Regions from separate parts of the Homo sapiens genome. Here all the other regions are linked to region 3. Evidence: promoter capture Hi-C in 16 types of primary human blood cells and fetal thymus (Javierre and others, 2016). All regions are on one chromosome and are shown on one strand. The core of a region is centred on a gene start or on the middle of the fragment in contact, and the rest is flanking DNA. Distances in the headings are between cores, read along the strand shown.

The links. Contacts are between HindIII fragments. The CHiCAGO score rates a contact against its expected background, and 5 or more counts as called.
Region 1: a contact is called between a fragment that was not itself captured here and the fragment with the promoter of HEXIM2 in region 3, in 2 of 17 cell types (monocytes and neutrophils). The highest score is 5.8, in monocytes.
Region 2: a contact is called between a fragment that was not itself captured here and the fragment with the promoter of HEXIM2 in region 3, in 5 of 17 cell types (neutrophils, fetal thymus, non-activated CD4 T cells and 2 more). The highest score is 9.9, in neutrophils.

The regions. Positions count from the first base shown.
Region 1 is chr17:45,366,436-45,369,756 of GRCh38, reverse strand. It overlaps LOC105371796 (a long non-coding RNA gene), which reads left to right and starts at 3,235. Exons shown (of 3, transcript XR_934786.3): 1 at 3,235-3,321. The HindIII fragment of the contact is 3,166 bases long and covers 1-3,119 here.
Region 2 is chr17:45,404,352-45,407,623 of GRCh38, reverse strand. It overlaps ARHGAP27 (Rho GTPase activating protein 27), which reads left to right. Exons shown (of 20, transcript NM_001282290.2): 5 at 1,541-1,948; 6 at 2,518-2,700; 7 at 2,943-3,023; 8 at 3,096-3,179. Among named protein-coding and RNA genes, the nearest start is that of ARHGAP27, 27 kb to the left of the region's middle. The HindIII fragment of the contact is 9,114 bases long and covers 1-3,272 here.
Region 3 is chr17:45,160,278-45,163,715 of GRCh38, reverse strand. It overlaps HEXIM2 (HEXIM P-TEFb complex subunit 2), which reads right to left and starts at 1,841. Exons shown (of 4, transcript NM_001303441.2): 1 at 1,685-1,841; 2 at 1,081-1,228; 3 at 857-966. The coding sequence starts at 922. HEXIM2-AS1 (HEXIM2 antisense RNA 1) reads left to right here and starts at 2,178. Exons shown (of 3, transcript NR_186789.1): 1 at 2,178-2,255. RefSeq lists enhancers at 1,602-1,731, 1,742-1,941, 1,359-1,974, 2,092-2,321, 1,975-2,590 and 1 more. The HindIII fragment of the contact is 38,888 bases long and covers 1-3,438 here.

The DNA.
Region 1 (3,321 bases), core at 287-2,786, 210 kb before region 3:
ATAAAACACATCCATTGTAAATGTACTATTCAACAGTTTTTTTTTAAATGTATAGAGTTGGGCAGCTATCACCACAAGCCAGTTTTATAACATTGCCATCATCCCCCAAAGTCCTGTTGGATCCATCTGCAGTGAATCCTCACAGCCATCCCAGCTCCAGCAATGACAGATTTGCTTTCTCTACAGATTTGTGTTTTCTGGAAATTTCATATAAATGGAAGCACACAATATGTGGTCTTTTGTGTCTAGCTTCTTTTACTGAGCATAATATTTTTGAAGTTCATCTATGTCGTAGCTCATTTAAGAAGTTTGTTCCTTTTTTGCTTTTTGTTTTTTGTTTTTTTGATACCGAGTCTCACTCTGTCGCCAAGGCTGGAGTGCAGTGGTGCGATCTCGGCTCACTGTAACCTCCACCTCCCAGGTTCAATCGATTCTTGTGCCTCAGCCTCCTGAGTAGTTGGGACGACAGGCGTGCGCCACCACTCCCGGCTAATTTTTGTATTTTTAGTAGAGATGGTGTTTCACCATGTTGGCCAGGCTAGTCTCAAACTCCTGGCCTCAGGTGATTCACCTGCCTCGACCTCCCGAAGTGCTGAGATTACGAATGTGAGCCACTGCGCTCGGCCAGTTTGTTCCTTTTTATTGCTGAGTAGTATTACACTGAATGGATATTTCACATTTTGTTTATCCAGTTACCAGCTTTTGCATATTTGGATGATTTACAGGGTTTTTAAAATGTACAATGCTGCTATGAGCATTCAGGTCTTTGTGTGGCCACATTTTTACTTCTCTTGGGTAGTTTCTGTTTAACTTTTTAAGCAACTGCCAAGCTGTTTTCCAAAGTGGCTGCATCATGTTACATTCCCAACAGCAATGTATGAGGCTTCCACTTTCTCTACATTCTCCACCACACTTGTTATTATTATCTGTCTTTTTGATTATAGCCATCCTGGTGGGTTTGAAATGGTATCTCATTGTGGTTTTAATTTGCATTTTTCAAATAACAAATTGAAATTGAACATTTTTGTGTGCTTATTAACCATTCTTTTTTATTATTGTTAGGAGAGAGAGGGTTTTCCTCTGTCACCCAGGCTGGAGTGCAGTGGCACAATCATAGCTCACTGCAGCCTTGAGCTTCTGAGCCCAAAAGATCCTCCTGCCTCAGCCTCCTGAGTAGCTGGGACTATAGATACACACCACTATATCGGCTAATTTTTTTTTTTTTTTGTAGAGATGGGGTTTTGCTATGTTGACCAGGCTGGTCTCAAACTCCTGGCCTCAAGCAATCCTCCTGCCTCGGCTCCTGAAGTGCTGGGATTACAGGCATGTGTCACAATATCCTGAGCCATGCCAGCCCATATATTTTCTTTGAAAAAAATGTCTATTAGAGTCTTTCATCTTTTTTTTTTTTTTGCAGCGGGAGTTTTGTGGTGGCGGTGGGGGAGTCTTGCTCTGTTGCCCAGGCTGGAGGGTAGTGGCACAACCTTGACTCACCACAACCTCTGCCACCTGGGTTCAAGCGATTCTCCTGCATCAGCCTCCTAAGTAGCTGGGATTACAGGCGCCTGCCAGCACACCTGGCTAGTTTTTGTAATTTTAGTAGAGATGGGGTTTCACCATGTTGCCCAGGCTGGTCTCAAACTCCTAGCCTCAAGCAATCCACTTGTCTCGGCCTCCCAAAGTGCTGGGATTACAGACATGAGCCACCACGCCTGGGTTGTTTTGTCCATCTTTACATTTAGTTGTTTGTCTTCTTATTATCGAGTTATAAGACATCATTTTAAAAAATAGGTCAGTCATAGTTGATTGTATGCATGGGACGTCATTTGTTTAACTTGTTTCCTATTGATATCTCTTAAAATTTTCGTTTTATACGTATTTTTATAATAGGCATAATATATTAATGCAATAGTTTATGTTCCTGACATAAATAAGCAAATACAATTGGAATACATCCTCAAGTTAGTTTGCTGAGAGGGATCATTAAGGCCTGGTGACCCCTGACCTGAGCCTTCCTCCCCCTCCCCCCTCTCCCCGCCTGCCCCACCCCGTCCATCAGGCCCTTTCTAGCAATCTCAAGGTTTGTAGAAACCTTGTTAAAAGCCCTCTTTCCTGGCAGCCTCTGACCTCCAAAAAGTCTGATTGGGATCCCCTAACTGATGAGGGAGGCTGAGGCTGAGGGAGTCCACCCAGGGTAACATCGGCACGGTCTGAATCACAGGGCTTTCTGGAATGACCCAGAGGCCACCCCTTCCTTAATTTGGGAAGCTCCAGGCTAGAGGACATGATGAGTGTTCATGCTGAGGTTCTCCTGAGTCCAGCAGCGTGAGGCGAGCTCAGAGCCCAGGAGTGTGGTTCGGGATGGTGCTGCCCTCAGCCCCCATGCTGCGTCCTGACCCCCCGCCCATCCATCTGCCCAGCCTGTCAATGTGGACTCACACACACCTGGTGTCACCTCAGAGCAATCCAAAGTAAAAGACCCTGCTGGTCCATGTCTCCCCTCCTGGTGGTTCCTTCATCTCCATTATCTTCTTCTTCATCATCCTCATTGTCACCACGTACTGCAGACATGTCCCATGCCTGTAAGTGACTTCTGGGATACTGTTTAATCCTCCAACAAATCCTACGAGCTGGAGCTTATTAGTTCTCTATTGCAGAAGAGAAAACTGAGGCTCCGGGAGGCTATGGGACTTCTCTGTCCCATCTTAGCAACAGAGGTGGAATCCACAGTCCACACCTTTGACTGGGACATGGCCCTACCCACCCTTCAGGGGCTGAGAACTGGCGCAGACTCAGCCTTCAGCTGATTTTCACCTGATTCTTAGCAGACGTCTTGGAAAAACCTCCTGGTGACATAATAAGAGCAGTGTGGCTCCAGGGTCGGGGAGGAATTTAGGGGGTGAGAATTGGGGGTGCCCCCCCTTGCCCTGAGCCAGGGCAGCTGCAGAGAAAGTACTATTCAGGGCAGGGCAGGAATGGACCCTGGAGAGCCTGAGGGTCCCACAGGGAGAGCACGCTGTCTACCCCCAGCACAGCCCCCGCCTCTCCTGGGGCTCAGCAGGCAGAGGGGAGAGGGCAGGTTCAGCCCAGAGAAGAGGGACTGTCACAGGTACCAAGCTTGTCTACTTTGGCAGGAGAAAGCTAAGGTCTGTAATCACACTTTCTGTTTTCACTTTTCTTCCATTTCTGAGTAAGCATTTCTATTGGAAAACTCCAGACTTGTCTGAGCTCAACGAAAGGAAAAGGGATCTGTGGGCACCCAGAGCAGGCCAGGGGTGGGGGTGGGGAGCCGGGCCCCTGAGTGGGTAGTATGCGTTTCCA
Region 2 (3,272 bases), core at 111-2,610, 240 kb before region 3:
AGAATCGCTTGAACCCAGGAGGCGGAGGTTGCAGTGAGCCGAGATCACACCATTCCACTCCAGTCTGGACGACAGAGCGAGACTCCATCTCAAAAAAAAAAAAAGAAAAAAAAGAAAAAGAAAAAGAAAAGAAAAGAAAATAGTAGTAATCTCCGTATGCCATGCTGCTGCCTGGGGTTTGAGAATGTAGTCATCTGTCCCTCTGTGGGGCCAAGGGTGCTGGGCTGAATGTGGGGGCACGGGGATGGGGGGAATCTCAGGAAAAGGCTGGAACCTGGCACCTCAGCTGAATCCTGAAGAAGGAATTGGAGTCAGCCAGGCAAAAAAAGGGGTGGAGATGGGCCTGGGCAGGCTGCAGATGAGCCTAGGCCTGGAGGAAACACAGCAGGGACGGTGGGGACCTCTAGCAACTGGTGCTACTGGAGCTTAAAGTTCAAGGCAAGGGGCAAGGAGTGGCAGGAAATAATAGTGGAAGCACAGGCCGGTGAGGGACGGTCTCTTGTGCCTGGTTAAGGGCTTAGACTTTGCCCTGCAGCCAGCAGGGAGCTCTGAGGTGTGAATCAGGAGAGCCTCTGTTCCGGGAGGCTTACGCATGGCTAGGTTTATGTTCTATGTGATTGAACCCCCAGCTGCCCTCACTCTCCTTTGGGGTGGAGTAAAACAATTCACCTCTCTTTGCCCCTCCATTCTCCAGCCCATCTGGCTGTCCTGTCTCCCTCTCTTGTCTGGAATTGGTTCTGACACCTGCAAACTTCACCTTGGAAAGTTCAGTCCCCAAATCCAGACAGGGTGCTGATTCCAATCCCAGAGCTTTCTGGGCTGAGAGTGGGGTGGGGTGGGAGCTCTCAGTGGAGCTGTAAGAATGCAGCTTGAATCCAGGAGGTGGTGGTTGCAGTGAGCCAAGATTGCGCCACTGCACTCCAGCCTGGGTGACAGAGCTAGACCCCATCTCAAAAAAAAGAATGCAGCAGGGCCCTGAATGGGCACCATAAACAGGGGCACGCCCCAGACCACTTCTCAGTTCCTGCCCAACCTCTGACTTGCCTCTGTGAGTGCACAGTTGTGAGAACTGGGTTATCGATGTTTTATTATTATTGATAAATATAATTAATGTAATTGACCCACCCGTCTGGGGCACTAAATACTTTACAAAGTACTTTCAAGAGCATTTCCTCATTCACTCTTCACTACAGTTTCCGGAATGGACAGAGCAGACATTTTACACCCAGGAAACTGAGGCAGAGAGGTAGTGTGACTTCCTGAAGGTCGCCCAAGGGGCTAAAGCTCAAGAAGAGGCCACTTCTAACAGGCACTTCCCCTTTCAAGGAGTTTACGGCTTAGTGATGGTGTCACAGTGAGCAGAAGAACTTACGTGATTTTTAAAATGCTTTGTTGTACAAAATTTTGAGGCTGCAGAAAAGTTTAAAGAAAATAAAGCGAAAACAAATAAACCCCTATAATCGCACTGCCCAGAGGGGACCTCTGTTACCATTTTGGAAGGTTTCTGAAAACACAAAATTCCTCCTTTCTCCTCCCGCAGGTGGACGACCCACCGGAGCCCGTGTACGCGAACATAGAGAGGCAGCCCCGGGCCACTTCACCGGGCGCCGCTGCAGCCCCCCTTCCCAGCCCGGTGTGGGAGACGCACACGGACGCGGGCACCGGGCGCCCCTACTACTACAACCCAGACACGGGAGTTACCACCTGGGAGTCGCCCTTTGAGGCTGCCGAGGGTGCCGCCAGCCCAGCCACCTCCCCTGCCTCGGTGGACAGCCACGTGAGCCTTGAGACCGAGTGGGGCCAGTACTGGGATGAGGAGAGCCGCAGGGTGTTCTTCTACAACCCGCTGACGGGCGAGACGGCCTGGGAGGACGAGGCCGAGAACGAGCCCGAGGAGGAGTTGGAGATGCAGCCGGGCCTGAGCCCTGGCAGCCCAGGGGACCCGCGGGTGAGGGGCAGGGCCAGAGTGGGCGGTTCTACCTCTGAGCGCCTCTGATCCCGCCTCCTGCTCCCAGAGGCCCAGGGACACACGGGTGAGGGGGTGGTGATGGGTGGGCGGGGCTACCTCTGAGAGCCTTTGACCCCTTCTCCTGCTCCCACAGACCCAGGGACCCCAGGGTGAAGGGCGGGGCTGGAGTGGGCGGGGCTACCTCTGAGCGCCTTTGACCCCACCTCCTGCTCCCACAGACCTAAGGACCAGAGGGTGAGGGGTGGGGCAGGATGGGTGGGGCTACCTCTAAGCGCTTCTGACCCCGCCTCCTGTTTCTGCAGACCCAGGGACCAGAAGGTGAGGGGCAGGGCTGGAGTGGGCGGGGCTACCTCTGACGCCTTCTGCTCCCACAGCCCCAGGGACCAGAGGGTGAGGTGCGGAGCTACCTCTGAGCGCTTCTGACCCCGCCTCCTGCTCCCACAGCCTCAGGGACCAGAAGGCAAGGGGGTGGGCCTGGTCCAAAACGGCAGGGCCAGCAGGCAGTACTGGCACTCAGAGCCTCTGACTCCACCTTCTGTTCCCCGCAGCCCCCCACTCCCGAGACGGACTACCCCGAGTCGCTGACCAGTTACCCCGAGGAGGACTATTCTCCCGTGGGCTCTTTCGGTGAGCCCGGCCCTACCTCTCCCTTGACCACACCCCCCGGCTGGTCTTGTCATGTCAGCCAGGACAAGCAGATGCTCTACACCAACCACTTCACTCAGGAGCAGGTAGGGGCAGGGGGCAGATGGACCCGGACAGCCTCAGAGTCCTCCCCACAACCTTCCTCACTAATAGGTCGCCTCAGTGCTCTAAACCGCAGCTCCCACACAGAGCCTAAACCAGCCAAACACAGTCACCTGCACCTGCCCCTCCAGACTCCCTGGTGCTGTCTTGGAACCTGGTTAGAGGGAAACTTTTCCTCCCCTCTCATAAGCTGGGCTGGAGGCCCTGACCATTCCTCTCCCCACAGTGGGTGAGGCTGGAGGACCCCCACGGGAAGCCATACTTCTACAATCCAGAGGACTCCTCTGTTCGATGGGAGCTGCCCCAGGTAACAACCTGGGGAAAGGGGGGTGTTGGGGAGAGAGGAAGAGATCATATACGACTGTGTCTTTCTCCCCAGGTCCCTGTCCCTGCCCCTCGAAGCATCCATAAATCCAGCCAGGATGGTGACACCCCAGCCCAGGCCAGCCCTCCAGAGGAGAAGGTAGGGGAGGAGCCATTGAGGTCCTGGCAGGACCACCACAGAAGCAGTGGGGGGCTTCTGGAGTTCCTGGGAGGAGGGACTTGGTGGGATCTA
Region 3 (3,438 bases), core at 592-3,091:
CACCATGCCCAGCTAATTTTTGTATTTTTAGTAGAGATGAGGTTTCACCATGTTGGCCAGGCTGGTCTTGAACTTCTGGTCTCAAGTGAATTGCCTGCCTGGGTCCATTCCAAATTATGAACCAAAAACTCTTCTTCCTGCTTCAGACTTGGTTCTTAGCCTGGACAAAATGTAAACATTCAACCCAGTCCCTCCATGCCCTCTTTGGACTTGAGGTCAAGGCAATGTTCTGTTGTCAGAAGGCCCTAAGTTTAAACCCTGGGTCTGTTGCTTGTAGATAGCATGATTCTGGAACAGGTATTTCAGGTCTCAGAACCTTAGCTTCTGGGAATTGGAAATAATTCCTACCTGAAAGGGTTACTAGGATTTTTTTTTTTTTTTTTTTTTTTTGAGACGGAGTCTCGCTCTGACGCCCAGGCTGGAGTGCAATTGCGAGATCTTGGCTCACTGCAACCTCCGACCCCTGGGTTCAAGCGATTCTCCTGCCTCAACCTCCCAAGTAGCTGGGATCACAGGCATGCGCCACCACTATGCCAGGCTAATTTTGCATTTTCAGTACAGCCAGGGTTTTGCCATGTTGGTCAGGCTGGTCTCGAACTCCTGACCTCAGGTGATCCACCCACCTAGGCCTCCCAAAGTGCTGGGATTACAGGTGTGAGCCACCGCACCCGGCCAGTTACTAAGATTTCATCAGCTAGCATAGACTGGGATTCCGGCCTATTGCCTAGTGCATAGTACTGATTCGTCAAAATACTGGTTTTCCAAATCTACCAACACATCTGGGACAAGAAGTTTGGATCTCAGCTGTGGGACCCGTGCTCGTGGTGCTTGGGTGGGCAGGAGGGCAGGGACTTACCTTGGCCTCCTCCAGGGCCACTGGTGACTCTGCATTACAGGCGGTCTGGTTCGGAGTGGCCATCATCTTCTGTTCCAAATCTTTCAGCAGACGCCTGGAACTAGTGACACCTGCTTTGAACAACAACAGAAACCTAAATCCTGAAGGAACGTCAGGAATACTCTGGCTGCCCAGAATTGTTTGCCCAGGCAGTGGCAGCCATTTTGTACCCCAGCCCTTCATACCCTTATTCTCAAATGCAGGCCCCGAAGGCTGCCTCCACCGCTGGTTTTCACACCTCCAGCCAGCAAGGGGCCAAATGGGATTCAGGGGCCGTCTTCTCTGTCCTGCTCCTCGGGTCCCTCACCAGGACTCATGTCCTGTACTGTCCTCCTGGAAGTCACCGAGGCCCAGGTTGGCAGCCAGGAAGCCAGGTGTAAGTTTTGTTTCCCCAACCACCAAAGGGGCAAAGGAGGACTGCCTGGGGAGGCTGGGAGTGCAGCGGGGCTGCTGCTGCCACGGGAGAACATGGAGCAAGCTCACGAGTCCTTCCCCACTGTCTCCAGTGGCCCCAATCTTGATGCAGCCCTGCACCCCCAACCTTCTCCCCAAGCTGGGCTCCAAAGGCCAGAAGCACAGCTGGGACCTGGGCCAGCCTAGTGCTGAGGACTTTTCCTCTAAGGTCCTGGCCTGCCTCCCTCCTTCCTCTCAGAAAGGGAAACAGGAGAAAAGGGGAAAGAGGTCTTTGCACTACATGCAGCTGGGAGGGAAACCCAACTAGGATAAGGATGGATTTCTTGGAAGAAGGGAGACAGTCATGGAAAGAGGTTTTGCAAAGGTGGAACTGACCTATTCGCTGTCAAGGGCTATGCACACCACTACATCTGTGTGCCTTTCTGTGCGACTGCCTGTCGGTGCAATTCCCAACGCCTGAGCCCTACCTCTTGCTGCAGTTGCAGCAGCTCTGGTCAAGCCGCTCAGGCCACTAAGATGGGGGGGAAGAGAGAGCCTGGACGCGCGGTGCCTGCTGGGGATTGTAGTTCTTCTGGCCTGAAAAGCGATCCAAGGGCCTGTAACGTCAACAGCCACACCCGAGACTCCAAAACCCATCTACCCTTGCGCGGGGGCAGACCGCGCGCGCATCACTGCCTTCTTTGATTGGTCAAGCCTTCTGCCAATATTCTCGCTTTTTTGGCAACGATTAGCTGTGAGGAGGCACAACTGGACCCGCCTTCTCCGAACTCAATTAAAGAGTTCATTGATGGCGTTAATCTTTACGGGGCAGAAAATAGATCCGGCTAAGGTGGGCGGGGCAGCAGGCGCGGAGGGATCCTTGGCCTTTGAGGAAGGCGACGAGAAGCTCGGCGGCCATCGCCGCCATTTTGGGCTGGGAGGAGGCAGCGGAGGGACTCGCTGCGCAGTGAGAGCACCCCGTGGGGGGTGGTCCGGGCGCGGGGAGAGGCCGGGCCGAGTGGGCTACCTGAAGTGGCGGCGCCGGGAGACGGCGGGAAGTGGGACCGGGGGCCAGGGAGGGTGAAGGTTGGAGTCTCCTCGGCCGAGCCCGGTCCTCAAACCGTCCCGGCAGCCCCGCAGCCTCGCCTCTCACAGAGTGCGGGGTTCTTCGGTAATTACCGCGTGTTTCCCGAGACCCCAGAAGGGGAGAGGCTGGTGAAACGGCTTCCCTCTGCGGTCTTTCCACAGGGGCGCGGATCCTGAGGCCGAGCTCTGCCAGCTTCCCTCCCCACCCCCATTCGGCCTGGGTATGGCGGCGAGGCCCCGCACAGAGGGACTCCCACTTCGACTGGAGAGGTGGGGGCGACGCCAGATTCCAGAGGCTGGCGCCGCGGGGGAGGGCGGAGGTCGCAGGTCTGGCCACAAGTCGGCGTGGCAGTCAGCTGGAGGCTCCGAGAGCGGAGATCCCAGTGCACCCACCTTACCTCGCTTACACCAAAGCGCCATCTCGCCGCCCGGGTTGCGAAAAACCACGACCCTCTTAAACTACTGTAGCAACCACTAATTCCCCCTGGGAGCAGCTAGAGAGGGGCACTTGGAAACCTTCACGAGCTCGGTGCCTGAAGGTCTCTGAGGCTCTTGCCCTCAAGATCTCTCCCATTCAGCCCCGATTCTCCGGACAACCTGACCTAGCATGTCGCCAGCCTCTTGGTGAAACGCCTAAAGTGTGCTGCCCCACTTCTCTTGAAAGTTTACACCGAAGGGATGAGGTTTTGCCCTTTACAGGGTTGGGGCACAAAGTCGGAGTCGCTGCGGCTCCGAAATAGAAACGGAGTTGCCCATTTCGTATGCTTCATCAACATCTGCTTGCATTTTGAAATCCTAGTCTTAACTTTTACACAACTTTTAGAGAAATGGCTGCCCTCCTAGAGGGAAAAACGAACTACAGTAATTCCAATTCCAATGTAATCTTTGTAAGACTACAAAATCTTTCCAGTTTAAAGATTTTTCTTTTCCCACAGACTAAACAAAGTCAGAGTATTTTGTGTTCTACTGGTGCATTGTTACTAGGTAACCTCAATTTTTTGAAATTCCAAGTAATTGAAGGATCACTTTTGTAGATCCTAAATGCTACCAAAAAAGAAACCAGT